2 separate regions of the Homo sapiens genome follow, and region 2 is linked to region 1. Evidence: promoter capture Hi-C in 16 types of primary human blood cells and fetal thymus (Javierre and others, 2016). All regions are on one chromosome and are shown on one strand. Each heading gives the region's core, a stretch centred on a gene start or on the middle of the fragment in contact. The rest is flanking DNA. Distances are from core to core; before and after follow the strand shown.

Evidence for each region. Contacts are between HindIII fragments. The CHiCAGO score rates a contact against its expected background, and 5 or more counts as called.
Region 2: a fragment that was not itself captured here is called in contact with the fragment with the promoter of GLRX2 in region 1 in 4 of 17 cell types (total CD4 T cells, total CD8 T cells, naive CD8 T cells and 1 more); the score reaches 7.0 in total CD4 T cells.

Annotation. Positions count from the first base shown.
Region 1 is chr1:193,103,246-193,108,890 of GRCh38, reverse strand. It overlaps GLRX2 (glutaredoxin 2), which reads left to right and starts at 3,477. Exons shown (of 4, transcript NM_197962.3): 1 at 3,477-3,627. The coding sequence starts at 3,509. RefSeq lists silencers at 3,299-3,538, 3,318-3,612, 3,589-3,688. The HindIII fragment of the contact is 5,966 bases long and covers 1-4,991 here.
Region 2 is chr1:194,299,862-194,305,506 of GRCh38, reverse strand. The region is part of intron 2 of LOC107985242 (a long non-coding RNA gene); the gene reads left to right. LOC105371670 (a long non-coding RNA gene) reads left to right here and starts at 5,561. Exons shown (of 3, transcript XR_922390.2): 1 at 5,561-5,600. The HindIII fragment of the contact is 1,748 bases long and covers 2,532-4,279 here.

The DNA.
Region 1 (5,645 bases), core at 2,228-4,727:
CATGAATGCTAGTGTCATTTCTGTGCTGTTCACTACAGTGCTTGGCACATAGTGGGCACATAAAATTTATAGAATTCAGGAACAAGAGGTTAACTATGGAATCCCATTATTTAATGGTGAGGGACTGAATATATAAATGGATAATGGGCAGAACACACATGACAATAAAACTCTGACTTCGAGCAAACAGACCAGAACAATTAGAACTTGGTTAATGACTACCAGCTTTCCAAATATGCTCCCCAAACCAGTCATATAGGATGCTTCCCTTCCAGTTGGCCTGCCTTCACGTCTTCATGCCAACAACTTTTTTTTTTTTTTGAGATGGAGTCTCACTCTGTCACCCAGGATGTAATGCAGTGGAGCCATCTTAGCTCACTGCAACCTCTGCCTCCCGGGTTCAAGCAATTCTCCTGCCTCAGCCACCAGAGTAGCTGGGAGTACAGGCATGCGCCACCACACCCAGCTAATTTTTTTTTGTATTTTTAGTAGAGACGGGGTTTCACCATATTGGCCAGGCTGGTCTCGAACTCCTGACCTTGTGATCCACCTGCCTCAGGCTCCCAAAGTGCTGGGATTACAGGCGTGAGCCACCATGCCTGGTCTGTCACTTTACTTTTAAAATGTACAACTTGATATTTTGATACATGTATATGTCTTAGTCCATTTTCTGTTGCTTATAACAGAATATCTGAAGCTGAGTAATTTGTATATAAATTGTTCTTACAGTATTGAATGCTGAGAAGTGCAAGGTCAAGAGGTCACATCTGGTAATGACCTTCTTGCTGGTGGGAACTCTGCAGATTCCCCAAGCCATGTAGGACATCATGGGACAAGGCAGCAGAGAACTCTGTTTTATAAAGCTGCCAGTTCTACTCCCATGATCACCCATTAATCCATTCATTCATGTTCCAGCTCTCATGCCCAATCATCTCTCAAAGGCCCCACCTGTCAGCACTGCCACATTGGACAGTTTCAACATAAGTGTCAGAGGGGACAAACATTCATTCCAAAGCCTGATACACTGTATAATAACTATCACAATCAAGCTAATTAACATAGCCACCACCTTTCATATTTACCATTTTTTTCTATTCCCTTTATTTTCTTCTCTCTTTTTCTTTCTTTCTTTTTTTTTCCAGACAGTCTTACTCTGTCGCTCAAGTTGGAGTGCAGTGACGCAATCTCAACTCACTGCAACCTCTGCCTCCCAGGTTCAAGCGATTCTCCTGCCTCAGCCTCCCGAGTAGCTGGGATTACAGGCGCGTGCTACCATGCTCGGCTAATTTTTGTATTTTCAGTTGAGATGGGGTTTCATCATATTGGCCAGGCTGGTCTTGAACTCCTGACCTCAGTTGATCCACCCATCTCAGCTTCCCAAAGTGCTGGGATTACAGGCGTGAGCCACCGCACCTGGCCCCATTTTCTTTCTTGTGTGCAAGTGTGAGAACACAAGATCTACCCTCTTAGCAAATTTCAAGCATACATTGCGATTTTCCTAACTATAGTCACATTGCTGTACTTTAGCTCTCTAGAACTTACCTATCTCGCATAATTGAAACTCTGTACCCTTTGACCAACATCTCCCCATTTCCACCTTCTCCCAGGCCCTGGCAACCACCGTTCTACTGTCTGCTGACATATTTCTTAACTTGCTATTGCAGTCATCACAACTATGACCAAAAATAATAATCACTTCTGTAGCTACCCCACGAAGCACAAAGAAGTTGAAAATTATCAATATATTTATTAATATATTATGCTGAATTCAGGCATAACACTTTCTTCTGAAGTACTTTACATTCTGAAATCCTTAAAAAAATCTGTCCAGTGAATTCTGTGCTTGATAATAGTCCATCTATGCTGTATTAAAATTAAATTGTAACATGATCGGTTCACCTCATAATGATCTTTATTTCATAAAACAATTTGAGATGAGGTAAAATTTGACTTCAAAACTAACATAACACCATAAATTTCCAAAATAGTTTTATAAAAAAATTAAAAAGCCCACAACACTATAGATAGATAACATACCTTAATTTTTATTTTATTTTATTTATTTATTTTTTTATGAGACGGAGTTTTGCTCTTGTTGCCCAGGCTGGAGTGCAATCGTGTGATCTTGGCTCACTGCAAACTCTGCCTCATGGATTCAAGCGATTCTCCTGCCTCAGCCTCCCGAGTAGCTGGGATTACGGGCATGCGCCACCACGCCCGGCTAATTTTGTATTTTTAGTAGAGACGGCGTTTCACCAATATTGGAGGGGCTGGTCTTGAACCCCCAACCTCAGGTGACCCGCCCGCCTCGGCTTCCTAAAGTGCTGGGATTACAGGACTGGCCACTGCGGGAGCTGCGGCAGCTGCGGCCTCTGGGTACGGGGTCAGCGGGCAGTCCTGTAATGGCCACATTACAGGACAGGCCATCGCGCCTGGCCACATGCCTTAATTTTCAAAGTCAAATTTGTCTTTAAAAAGAATGAATTCCTACCCTTTGGGGGTATTTATTTTTGCAACTAACTTCCATCCTTTTATTAAGTAATCAAACATAGCCCATTTGAATGTTGGAAAAGAACTGTCAGAAATACAAGTTCTTATTTTGTACTTTGGTAACATGAATTTTACACTTAGTTGAACATGAAGAATCAAAAAAGCTCTGGATTGTTGTAATAATTGTTTAGAATTTTAGATGTACCATTTGACCTTTGACTTTAAGATGAATTTCAGTGTCCTCAGTAAATAAAGGCTTACCCCCAACCTTAAATAGTGACGCACAAAGGCTATTATTACCACCACTGAGTGGCTTAAATAATCCTGTCAACAGCAATCGCCCATTTCCAAAGCCATGGTGAAACATCTCTGTGCTAATTTCTTTTGTTTTGTTTCCTAATTTTTTTTTTTTGGCAGGTGGTGGGAAATAATCTTTGTCTTCTTTGGAGTAAACCTTCAACACCGGATTTTTTCTTTTAATTATGGATGTAAACCCCAATATCCCCATAATTTACATTGGGTCTCGACCAATTGCCTAATTATAAGAGGATATATTTAGGCTCTTATTTCATCCACACAAAAACTTGTGTAACAGGTAGTTGGAAACATCTGAGGCACCACTTTGATTCTGTTTTGGATGGTCATGTTTTTTCTCCTCCGTTTCCCCAGCATGTCTGCCACCATCCTCATGCACTGCTTCCAAGTGCCTGGGAGCCTTTATGAGCGTCCCTAAACCTAAAAGAATCCAGAGGCGGGGCTCGGATGAACCCTCGAGATAAGCAAGTGAGCCGCTTCTCCCCTCTAAAGGATGTTTACACGTGGGTGGCACTCGCTGGAATCCAGCGCTCGGGCAGCCCTGGGAGGACGCGCTCAGCTGCGAGGAGGTGACCGGCGGCGGCGCGGGCAGTCCGGAGGGGCGGGACGGGGCGGGGCAAGGCGGGGGCCGGGCCGGAGGAGGCGGGCTCCCGGGATCCGCGGTGTCCGGCAGTAGAGCTCGCTGCAGATCCGGGCTCTGACCATGATTTGGCGCCGCGCGGCGCTGGCGGGGACGCGGCTGGTTTGGAGCAGGAGCGGCTCGGCAGGCTGGCTTGACAGGGCGGCGGGAGCTGCGGGAGCTGCGGCAGCTGCGGCCTCTGGGTACGGGGTCAGCGGGCAGGAGTGCCGCGGCGTGGTGCGCAGGCCTTGCGGGGGTCTGGAGAAAGCGGTGGGCGGAGGTGCCCCTTTGCCCCGGCGCCGGGTGGGCGAGGCGTACTAGCGCGTGGGCTCTGAGTCATAACACGCAGAGGCGCTCGAGGGATGGGCAGGGAAGGGTGCCCTCCGCGGCTGTGCTGACTTCAGGAGCCTGTGACTCTCGCGTTGAAAATACTTCACTCATGTTCACTTAGGCCATCCCTCTGTGAATTGCTACATAAAATACAAGACGCCGCAATCAATTGGAATTTCTCTGAAAGAGCGAATGATTCTTAGTCCAAGTGTGTCCCAAATACTGCAGTGGACATAGGAAAAACGGAACAGTTTTCTGGTGTTTGGTTACAATTCTAATTTGACCGGGCGTCCTGCATTCTTGTTTGCTAAACTTAGCCACCCTACTGCAGGAAGTGAAGGCGATGATTCCCGCTGAATGGCCAGAGCTTTTAGGATAGAGGCTGACTGATGGTGATGCCGCCTGCGGCTAGACCGAGGATAGTGCTTTCCTTACACTTCCTCGTTTGGAATATCAGCGGCTTCGGGACCTGCAGTGGAAGGGAACTGCGGCTGTGCTGCCCACGCCCGCGCGGCTGGTGCCTGGCGGTCCTGCCGGCTCGCACTTCCGCGCCTGCCACTGCGCACTTGGCCGGAGAGTCTGTCTCGCTATCTACTTGATCTGGGAGCTTCTATCAGTTTTGCAAGATTCTAGGAATCTCAAGTTTAACTTTCCAGACCAAGCTAGAGACCCCTCCTGAAGGGCTAATCACAGGCTGTTAAGTGTTTGACAGCTCTTTGAGGCCCCGCCGTGTTTTTTTCTGCGTATCCCTGGGGTCAATATAGCACTTTGCCTACTTAGCACACAGTAGGCGCTCCATAAATGTGGCATGACTAGGTGCTTCATCTGTGTTGAAATGAAATGTTTATTGTGCACTTACTTCCTCCGTGCATGTTTCTATTCATAGTTCGCGACAGTTTTTACCAAGGTCAACTAGAAATTGAAGGGAAAGGGTGTCTTCCAGAAACTTTTATTTGGGTAATATTTCAGAATGCACCTCCTACCTCCTCTCACTACCCAAGAAAACATTCTCTTGTGTTCTATTGGAGCTCCTTCAGTAGTAAATGCTGTAGTAGATGGTTTGGGTATGACAGTTTAAGTGCTGGACCTGAGATGAAAGGACTTGCTTTCTTAGTTGATAAACCAAATACAGCTTGCTGATTTATTCCACCAATGCTCTTCCTTAGGGCTAGGCCAGTGCTGCCTAACCTTTTCTGGTTTAGGCTTCAGGAACTCAACTTTCTTTTATCTTAAAGCTTCACCCTCCTCTCAGGTTGGCTGCAGTCTCCCTAGCTCGCTACCCTTAACTCCTTCCTGAGTTAAGCGCACAGGACTTTTTTTTTTGTTTTAAAGTGTTCCTTGCTAATACTATTAGGAAGCAAGGAATAATAGATTGTAAACATTGGGTAGGTTATAATGTTATAATGTTTAATTCCTGTCTCTTACTCTTCTTTGTTATAACTGAACAAACTGATGTTTGCTGTAGCTTCCTCACTCTAGGTGAGCTGATATCATAATCGTTCCCCCTTATCCGTGGTGGACACGTTCCAAGACCCTCGGTGGATGCCTAAAACCTCGGATAGTACTGAACCCTATACATGCTATTTTCCTATACATACTTGCCTATGATAAAGTTTAATTTATAAATTAGGCAGAGTAAGAGATTAACAACAATAATAAAAGAACAATCACTTTAATAACAAAATGCTCATTTCAAGGAATCCCTTGCTGAATCTTCTCATAGGCCCAGTGCTTTTTGGCATAACACATTGCTGTCAGTTGGAACACTTTTTCTGTTCTTGTCTCCACAAATTTAATACCTTTTCTGGCTTAACTAAGCACTTATACCTTGTGGCTGTAACTTGCAGTTTGAGGTGTGACATCAAAACTGCCATGAATTTTTTACTTCTTT
Region 2 (5,645 bases), core at 2,156-4,655, 1.2 Mb before region 1:
TAGAATAGCATCATTTAGCACCATCAAAAATGAAGTTGAGTGCTTAAATGATTTGCATAGCAATCTTTTGCACGTATTCAACATTGTCTAAGTACGTATGTTATACTAAGAATGATGTTAGTATTGAGATACAATGACAAAGAGTTAAAATCTCTTCCAGAAGTGGGGAAATATAGCATGCAAGCAATCATTTACAATGCAGTATTATAAATTCAATAATACCACTAGGCAGGAGATCATCTGGTAGCATAGAGGACAGAGTTCCTATCTTTGTTAGCGTTATGGAGAGCTCAAGGGAGCTCACAATGGCTTCATGTATGAACTCCTGACATTTTAAACTCTTTGCCATACATAAATTCTTCTGAGGAACTCGATAATTCTAAAGACCTTTGTAAATATTACATCAGTCATCTTTAGTATATGAATCTTGCATAGCTGCTGAAAGAGCAATTCAATTGATGAGGGAAGATGGGTAAATAAAACATTGGAAATCCTTGGTATCTATAAGTTGATTAAAAAATGGCAAAAAGATACAGGACCAAGAATTCTATAGTTTGATAATCTGGAGTTTATATTTACATTTTATATTGCATTATAAACATAAAATGCTGATGGAAAGAAATTTAAGCAGATTCGTAGATCACATAAGGACAAATACTTGATGATGCAGTAAGGAATTTTGCCCTCCTTCCAATTGTACTGTTATAGAAAACTTTAACAATGATTCATTTCTTCCCTTCATTCAAAGCACAGTAATGGGCAGCAATTTTGAGTAAAGATTTCTCCAGGTGCTAGGCATACAGAAATTAGTACATCATTGTCCTTGTCCTCAAATGTGTTACATCACTTTGGGAATGACAAATGCATAAGCAATTTATGGCATTTTGATTTGATGAGTATGAGCTCATGTATAAAATGTCATATTATATCTATATTGTATTGTAAAAATATTGTATTCCCTTCAGTATCAGTATAATAATAAATGAGATAGTGTAAATAAAACTTTGTACAGTCCGTGTTAAAAGAAGATACTTATGGTTGGTATTAGAGATGAGTACAAGACTCTAGCTTGTATAGAGGAGGGTGACTTGGCATGGGAGCACAGTAAGATAAAACTGAATGCCATATGATGAGTCTCTTCCAAATCTTTCCAGTCGTCTTTCATTTATCTCTTGCTCTCATACTTTATTTCCAATCAGCTAGTACATTTTCTTGCTTCTACCTTCAATTTCTGACCATGTCTTACCATTTTCCTACTACCCACTTTTTCTACACTGAGCCAACATCATCTTTCACCTGGATTATTGATACACCTGCACTTGTCCCCGTAATGTCTGTTTTCCATTCAGCAGCCAGAAAAATACAATTAAAACATAAATAAGTTCATGAAACCTCTCTTTACCAAACCGTCACATTGGTTCACTGCTTTTCCAGAGCAAATGGAAAAGTCCCTACAATAAACGACCAGGCTATATGTGATATATGTGATTTGCATCTTTTTCCTTTATATATATATATATATATAAAAAATATAAAATTTATACATGTATATATAATATATAATATATATTTATATATGTATAAATATATAATACATAAAAATATATTCATATATGTACAAATATATAATACATAAAAATATATTCATATATGTACAAATATATAATACATAAAAATATATTATATTTATATATGTACAAATGTATAATACATAAGAATATATTTATATATGTACAAATGTATAATACATAAGAATATATTTATATATGTACAAATGTATAATACATAAGAATATATTTATATATGTACAAATGTATAATACATAAGAATATATTTATATATGTACAAATGTATAATACATAAGAATATATTTATATATGTACAAATATATAATACATAAGAATATATTTATATATGTACAAATATATAATATATAAGAATATGTTTATATATGTACAAATATATAATATATAAGAATATGTTTATATATGTATAAATATATATACATTTACTTGTATATTGTTTTCTCATACTGAAATATAAACTCCATGAAAGAAAGGACTTTTGTCTATATTGTTTGCTGCTGTGTTACCAGAACTTAAAAATAGTTCCTATCACATAGTGCTCAATAAATTTTTGAATGAATAAATGATATTAAAGAATGAATAGGCATTTATCAATTGTGTAAGAGAGAAAGAAAAAACATCCTAAGCAAGAAGCTGGCATATAAAAGTCAAAGAAATCCCTGAAGATGGTACTGTAAGAATATATGCATATTAGAGAACAGAAGCAGATGTGGTTGGAGAGATAGACAGGGGACATGGCTTCCTGCATCATTTACATACTGGGCCAAGTCTAAGGTTTTTTTTTTTTTTTTCATTTCTGAGCCAGGAAAATTGTGATAAAAACACAATAATATATATTTTCTGTTTTTAAATGGCTATCCTCTAGCCCTTGCCAATGGCTTACCTACATGCTCGTATTATCTTGTTAATTTGAAAAGGAAAAGTTAAGCAGACACTTTATAAGCTTCTTATCAAGAAACACAATAGTAAGTCAATAGCACACCTTCTGGGTATGTTGCATGTGAAGAGACAGTAAATTAAGAACTATATTCCATATTCAGATATTTTTTGAGGTTTATTGCTTCTTCAGTGTTAGAACATTTTAATTGGTTTCTTTTAACTTTGAAAAATATACTCTAGAGATAAATTCATTTATAATAAAGGTCACTACCTAACATTAAAAGGCAGTATTTCCATTAACATTTTATGTGCTGGTATATTTAACAACAGTGAAAAGACACTTTAAGGAAGCCTCCTCTTGTTTTAAAAGGTCAATACACAAAATGTATTTTAAAAATTCTATATTAATAGACCACATTCTATAATTCAAAATTATTTAAAAACTATTAGAAACAGAAAATAACCAAATAATTTACCAATATACAAAATAAAACATTGACGTACTAAATAATATTCAAACAGTGAGGTTCTTTTTGATTCAACTTATGGTTTTATCAACAATGGGGAGAATTAAAAGGGTAGATAATGCCTATATGGGCAAAGCGAAACTTTGAGCAATTGTATAATAAACTTGGTAAATTAGTTTTGGCTATATAATCCTATGTTTAAAATACCGGATTTCTTTCTGTCTCCTCTTGCTTTTCCTCAAGAGCATCATATTCATTGATAAGAGAAGAACTTGTTCTAATTTCTGTTCTGCCATTCCTGGTTGTGCAGACCTGGGCTAGTTACAAGAGTTGGTTTGAGGGCAAAATCAGATAATGCATGCAGAAGTTCTGACACATTTTAAGTGTTAATTAAATATTAGCCTTTCTCTCTAATTTTAGTATCTTCTTCTACTCTTCACTCCCTCAAACTGCTGTTTCTCAAGGACTCCCTTATGGATAGGAAAGCGATACAGTTATTAACCCACTACATAACCTCTGGTATGGCTTCATGTTTAAATGAATATTTATTGATTAATATAGAGAGAGTTATGATAATAATAACTCATTAAGTACTTAATATTTGGCAGACACTAGCCTTCATGTTTTCTTATATAAATTTGTTTTATTTTCTTGGTAACTCCTTGAATAGATGCAATCATTATCTTGTTATGATATAGAAGGTAACTGAAGCATAGAACAAGTACTGCGTTTTTTTTTTTTATAGTAACAGAACCTTTAAGTGGGAGAACAGAATTTAAATACATAAAACTTGGCCCTGTATTCTGTTCTCTTGGGCACTGCTCTAGGTTTAGGGAGAAAGAGGGATACCATTTGCAGAACCCATATTTTCAGTGTGTTTGAGAAATAAGGTATTCAGATATGCTTATTTAACCATAAGGCCATCATTGTTCATCCTAATAATACAACTCATATTGTTGCTGAAATATTTTACATAAATGTCTAGCATTATATTTAGTCTGTGGTTTTGCAGACCCTATGATTTCTCAAATCAGGAGATCTCCAGTGACAGTTTTGTTACATGTTAGAGTGAATTTAAAGTGTTTTGATTATGTTTTATTTATTTTTTGAGGCAGAAATACTGTTGAATGAGAGGGGAGACTTCATATTTGCTTTGCATAGAAAAAATAAACATTTTATTTCTTTTTTCAGTTTTTTTTTGTGGGGGTTGAGAGTGGTTCTGTTTTCCAAATATTTTCATATATCCTCCATAGAACTTTAAATGATGTTTCACATGGTGTACAGGCTCAACAATATCTCCTGACAGGCAAGAATAGGAATAAAATAGTGAAGAATCCTTTCTAAGCTTGTATTCTGGGTAGTGAGACTTTGAATAATGAGGCCAAGGCAGCAATTTTCATCTCTATGTGGCCTCTTAGGCTCTGCTCTGCCGTAGTGTCATGAGCAGCAAGCTTATACTCTAAAGAATGAAGTGTGCTGCCATACCCGAAGGCAAAGCCCATCTGCTTGTTCTATTTTTCTTCTCATGCTCAGCCAAGTTCTAGAGAATAATAGTCCTGGGCTACAGGAAAGCATTCAGCTACCACAGCTTCCTAAACTAAAATTTCTGACATATGGCTCATGATAGGAAATGTTCAAATAAATAAGCTTAGGTCTAGGTGCTGTTCTGGATCCAGTCCCTAAGATTGAACTGCCATTTGGAGTAGAGATCTATTTACAAGTACGAATGTTATATATTCAGAATGAAGTATAGATACCATAGCGAATGAGTCAGCAACCTAGGTCCTCATTCCAAATAAACAGCAATAGTTTGTTCAAATCAGAAAACAACAACAACAGAAACAAACAAACATTATTGGGTAGATGATAAAACAAACCTGGGAAGCAATGGCTATCAGGCATATTTGTTGAAAATGTTCTATACTTAGGCAGAAGGTATGCATTCTGGTAACTTGGAGGGAAACTAATAAAAGTTGGCAGGAGCTCAATCCTAGAAGGAAACTTAGTCATAGGGACATGACAATGAAGGACAAAGTCTAAGGGAAATATGGCACAGAGGAGAGCTTGGCAGTTGGTAATGAAATGAGAAAGCAAGAGAGATTGATTTCTTCTCATGTTACTCCTCATGGTTGGCAGGGTATACGTATACCCTGAATATGGTCAGGGTTTACCACTGGGCTGGAGATAGTTTTAAGCATCCTGATGACCAGATCTCATGGAGAGCAAAGTAAATTGCATTGGAACTGACACTCATTTCTTTTGTATTGGGATAATCTTTCTAATCACAGATGGAATGGTTGATTTGTATTTCAGGATAAGTTACTCCCATTGACCATCTTCCCATTTCCCCCACCTCTCATCTTCTCATAACCGTCATTGTGCTCTCTACCTCTATGAATTCAATTATTTTAGATTCCACATTTAAGAAAGAATATGTATTTTTCTTTCTGTGCCTGGCTTATTTTACTTAGCATAATGTCCTCTAGATTCATCCATGCTTCTGCAAATGACAGAATATCTGTCTTTTTTTTTTTTTTTTTTTTTTTCCGGAATCTCGCTCTGTAGTCCAGGCCGGAGTGCAGTGGTGTGATCTCGGCTCACTGCGACCTTCATCTCCTGGGTTCAAGAGATTCTCCTGCCTCAGCCTCCTGACTAGCTGGGATTACAGGTGTGCACCACTACACTCGGCTAATTTTTGTATTTTTAGTAGAGA